Regions from separate parts of the Homo sapiens genome. Here region 1 is linked to region 2. Evidence: promoter capture Hi-C in human tissues and cell types (Jung and others, 2019). All regions are on one chromosome and are shown on one strand. Each heading gives the region's core, a stretch centred on a gene start or on the middle of the fragment in contact. The rest is flanking DNA. Distances are from core to core; before and after follow the strand shown.

The links. Contacts are between HindIII fragments. The study calls those that stand out against the background at their distance.
Region 1: a contact is called between a fragment that was not itself captured here and the fragment with the promoter of RPL10L in region 2, in 2 of the 25 tissues and cell types used here (dorsolateral prefrontal cortex and spleen).

What each region holds. Positions count from the first base shown.
Region 1 is chr14:47,050,759-47,053,458 of GRCh38, forward strand. All of the region lies in intron 7 of MDGA2 (MAM domain containing glycosylphosphatidylinositol anchor 2), which reads right to left. Among named protein-coding and RNA genes, the nearest start is that of RPL10L, 400 kb to the left of the region's middle. The HindIII fragment of the contact is 3,925 bases long and covers 1-2,700 here.
Region 2 is chr14:46,650,255-46,653,073 of GRCh38, forward strand. RPL10L (ribosomal protein L10 like) reads right to left here and starts at 1,527. Exons shown (of 1, transcript NM_080746.3): 1 at 756-1,527. The coding sequence starts at 1,482. The coding sequence ends at 838. The region is part of intron 3 of LOC105370481 (a long non-coding RNA gene); the gene reads right to left. The HindIII fragment of the contact is 6,030 bases long and covers 1-2,819 here.

The sequences.
Region 1 (2,700 bases), core at 46-2,545, 400 kb after region 2:
ATGTTGAATATGGTCTTCCATGGTGAAATAAATACTATTAAAGATACTTGCATTGGTGAGAATAAGTAAGATCTCTCCCAACTTTTGGGAGCGGGATATGGGACTGGCAAGGAGACTCTAACATCCTAACACTTTTTGGAGTGGCATCCTTGGAATATGGCTCTGATAATCTTGTGCCCCATGATCAACAGAATAAGTCATCACATGATCCAACTAGAATGTTACCTGAATCACTTCTAGAATATTGCAACACCTGTCAACAATGACCATTTCTTGCAAGGCCTTTGTCAAAGGGATATGACTGAATATTTGAAATGCCTGAGATAATAAAGGGAAATATTCATTTAATCTAAGATTTTAAGGCATGCTGCAAGCTTTCATACTGGATTTGAAATCTGAGATTTCAAGGTCAAGTCAGGTGGAAGTGAACACAGTATATATGCTTCTGGGGTCTATTTCCTTCTCTATAAAATGAAAGGCATTAGGTCATCAATAAGCCCTCAGTATTTTAAATCCGTGCTAATAATTAAGACATGTAGGTTATCTTTTAAAATTGTTTTATGAAACAAATATGTGGAGACCTGTCCCAGTAATCTTTTATTTTCTTTTTAAATTAAGAATAGATATTTAGAACACACCACATGTTCCATAAAGGCACCATCAAAACCCAAATTCAAGTTTTTCTAAATTTTTCTCATCCCTTTTCCAAACCTCACTGATATCTAACAATGTTGAATGAAAAATAATCAAAAGATTATGAAAATTAGGTTCTTTTAAAACTGAAAAGATATTTATTGGCAAGCAGATTTGAGGGGAGAAGTTCTTTGCACTAATCATAGTTCTAGCTATTTGGAACCCTTGAAAGAAAGAGCTTTAAGACATTCCAACTGTAAAATGAAACTTAAACACACCACATACAAATTAAATCACTTTAATAACTGTTCTCTCTGTTGCTAAGAGGTCTAGAGTTCTAGAGCTTTCACTACCACATAGAAGAAAATGGTGATGAAACTGTTAGCCTGTGGATCCAATCATCATAAATACTGCTATTTAATTTTCTTTTTGCCAATTGTGAATGGTAGGTTAGTAGTGTCATCTGTGACCATAAAAATCTGAAGTGTGATCATAACTACATTAGTAGTGAACATACCATTTCCTATACCTCTATCTTCTCCTCTAATAAAAAACTTCAGGATTGGTCTTGGTATTATAGCCTTAAAATAATATGCTGTAATGTACATTCCATTGTTAACTATAAATCTGGTGGAAGCATTTATTCTTTATCAGCGAATGGAGATATCTGTCACAAGTGTTTCTTTAACTCTAATACATCATTACTCACTGTTATCATTTTAAATGCAAATTTTGAAGCTAAAAATTATTTTCAGCCCTCATTGGATTGGAGAATTTTATATCCAGTCGTTTAAAATTCAAATAGTTTCTATGTTCCCATTGCTTGCATTAGAAAAGAAAGAAGGGCACAGGAAGTATATATTGGGTATACTCTCTCATTTCTCTTTGATCTGCTCTTGCTTTCCTATCACCTGAGAATTTGAAAAAGTATTTAATATTATCAAATGAAGAAAGTCCCAAACACATGGGACAGTAATTAGACAAAAGCTAATTAAGCACTGTTAAATAATAAGTTGTAAAGTCAAACCTTTGTTCTGATATTTGGGGAAAATATTGGAGTATTTTCAGTTGATAATTGGAGGGAAATTATAAATCCAATGTTCTTTCCATAGTAATACAGATTCAATTTTATGTGAAAAATTCTAATAGAAAAACATGTTTAATGTTTACTGAACAATTACAGGAAATAATAGAATACTCTCCATTTTTATATTTATGTCCCTCAAAATATAACTAGTAAAATATTGATATAACTTATGCTTCTCAAAACAACTTGCAACTAACGATGTTTTAAATAATCCCTTTCACTCCTTTAAATGGTCTTCTTGAAAAGAGGATTCATATAATTGTCACCTTCTATGAGTGTCTATAATGCTACCTGTGGCTTGTTTAAGAAGATGCCGCATAATCTGAGGATGGATGTTCTTCATACCAAAATACTCTATTTAAACTCTGATGACCTCTTATCTTGACCTTCCCATTTTCCCCTCTCCTTTCCTCTCTTCCTCTTAATCCTCTGTCTCATTCTGTCGGTCTCTGTCACACTCCCTCACTCTTTCCATATTCAATCCTTTCACTTAAATGAAAATAAGAGCTCACTTCCATTATCAAAATTTATGCATCAATATTATGGTTTCTGGGACAAATACAATCATTCACATTTATTTTCATGCCGGTGAAGAAGTACTGAAGGCTGTGAAGATGCTCTAAATACAAAAAGCTTTCCACTGCATGGATATTCTTTTTTTCTACTCAAATTAGAGAGCTTATTTTCCTTGATTTCCATTGATCAGTCATTCTCATTTGCTTCACAGTTTCTTCTTTTTTTATCATCTCCTTGGACAGTAATAGCTTTGCTTCTTATTCTCTTCTTGGGTGAGCCCATCTGTTTCAAATTAATACAATTACTTGTGAAGTCTATGTTTTAGTTCTGACCTTTTCCTGATCATCAGAACTGATTTTCTAATTGCTCACCAGAAACATGAGGATGTTTCACCATCCCTTCAGCTACAACTAATCTCAAACCATTTTGTTCTCTCAAACCTTCTCACAAACATACATCCTTTA
Region 2 (2,819 bases), core at 277-2,776:
ACTCAGGAATTTTAGCTTATGTAGTTTCAAAAATAAAACAAAAAGCACCTGTGTCATCAACGTAACTCTAATTCAGGGCAAGCACCTACAATTGCAAACTCTCTTTAGGGTCCTTTTATAGCACAGATAACCGATTTAGTGTCATTTTCTCTCTTCTTTTGGTTCTACTGGAGCCCAGATACAAGTAATATGAACTCTGTTGTCACCTATGACCTTTCTATGATGAAAAAAAGATTAGACTGTTATCTCTTGACTGTGAGACAATGTAAAGTTCGTCTGGAAAAGCCTTTCAGAGTGATACTCAATTGTCCTAAGGCTGATAATCAGACGTGTAAGGTAATTCTAAAAACAATGTACAGAAATTTATAGAAAAACATAAGGCAACCAAGTTTAGAAATAAATTACTTCCAAAGAGGCTGTGGGTGAAATATCACTAATGCCTACTATTATTTTCATCGCTACTGTTTAGTTTATATTCTATAAACAAATTTTTTCACTCAAATCTATTTTTTATTCAAGGAATGATAGCTGCATAACTTATGACTTTACTACAAACAAAACTTTCAACATATTGCTCTATACTCTCCTAAATTTAAAGTGTTTGCTTAAAACAGCTTTCTCTATAAATTGTATAGTTTTACTGAAGCAAGGAAGGTAACATTTGCCATTAAAACTGAATAAATAGAAAAAAATTCTCTAGTAGTCTATATTCTAAAACATTGGATATTTAAAAAATATTAAAACTTAATAAGGAGTTATTTTTTGCCAGTAAACAGAATTTATTAGTAAGCATAAGTCAGACCAGCATGGCCCAAGGAGACAGTACTGCCAAAACCTTCATGAGTGCAGAACCCGCCACTTGTCCAAGGGGCCATGACTGGGAACGTACTTGACTCCACAACCATCAGGGATGAGGCACTTCTTGGCCACCATGTCTTCAAATTCGTCAGCATTAAACTTCGTGAAGCCCCACTTCTTGGAGATATGAATCTTCTGGCGTCCAGGGAACTTGAACTTGGCCCTGCGCAAGGCTTCAATCACATGCTCCTCGTTCTGAAGCTTGGTGCGGATGGACATGATGACTTGACCAATGTGGACCCGGGCTACAGTACCCTGGGGTTTTCCAAAGGCACCTCGCATACCTGTCTGGAGCCTGTCAGCCCCAGCACAGGACAACATCTTGTTGATGCGGATGACATGGAAGGGATGGAGCCGCACTCGCATGTGAAAGCCATCTCTGCCACAACTTTTCACCATGTATTTGTTGGCACAAATACGGGCGGCCTCCAGGGCTTCAGAAGACAGCTGCTCATATTCATCAGACACCATGTGGCCACCGAGTGGGAACTCATCCACTTTTGCCTTCTTTCTACCCAGGTCAAAGATGCGGATCTTGGCATCAGGAACCCCTCGGCAGAAACGAGATTTTGGGTACGGCTTGTTCTTACAATACCGGTAACAGCGAGCTGGACGGCGCCCCATGGCGACACAGTAACGTCGGCGGTGCCTCGAAGTCAAAATGCGCTCTCTTAACTACGCCTGCGCGCATTTATATACGTTGCCCCTCGTCCCTCGCGGGAACCATAGAGTCCTGAGGCCGGAACCATAGAGTCCTGAGGAGGATGTGACGACTCTCTTTCAGGACGTCCCAACCAGAGACGCAGGGACGTCTGGCGCCTCAGCGCCTGCGCCAAGTGGCGCGCTTAAGGTGAGCAGAGTCAGCTGTGGGTAGACTCCCCCTGGCGGCCAGGGAAGGAATTGGGCCCCGCCCCAACTGCACAGCTGCTGCTTCCTTTCTGCTAGCCATCTTGGGCTAGGAACTCTTGCTTTCAGCTTTGCTTTAAGTATAAAAGAGGTTATTTCCAGGCAGGAGAATCTCTTGAGCTCAGGAGTTCGAGGCCAGCCTGGGCAATATAGTGAAATGCTGTCTCTACAAAAAAAAAAATATATATATATCAAATAGCTGGGCATGGTGGCACATGCTTGTAGTCCCAGCTACTCAGGAGGCTGAGGTGGGAGGATCGCCTGGGCCCTGCAGGCAGAAACTGCAGTGAGCTGAGATAGCACCACTGCACTCCAGCTTGAGTGACAGAGGGAGACCCTGTCTAAAGAAAAAGAAAAAAAGAAATCCTAGAATTTGAGAGGAAAAATCCTTCCAGTTATTCAACATGCTGTTTCCAGTTTGGTCAGTTCATTTTCCAGAGCTTGTATCTCACTGTCAGCATTTGTAGATCAATTGCTGTTTCTTGGGTTATGTGGCCACCTTCCCTGGATAAAGTGGTTTCTTGGCATGAGTGCTTTGATGAGACTCAGGAAGAGATGAGAGGAAGAGAAGAGAGAGGGATAAAGAGAAGATATCTGTTGTATCTGTAGCTTGGCAATTGTTTTATAAACATGAAACTTTGTTTTTTCTTTATTTGGCCTAAAGAAATGATTTTATTATCAAAATGATATATACAAAATTGAAACACCAACTAGATTTTTTTTAACTTAAGGCTATTTGCATTTTCAAATGTTAAAGCTGCTGAAACTATATAAAAGAGTAACAGTTTGTGTTTTAGTAATCTTTTGCCCCTGAGAATAAATTTAAACTTTTTTTCTTCTCAGAGTTTGTAAAAATATTATGACAGGGATCAGAGTGTAGGAAAGGAGGAAGAAGAGAGAGGAAAAGAAATTAATAGTTTACAAACCCTACTTGCATTTTTCTAGTTTTCTTTTTTGTTTTAATGTTGTTTCACAAATCCATTACATCATGGAACAAAATCCCCCCAATGTGAATATATTCTGTCAATACTCTTTGTTTTAAGGGAGAAAAATAA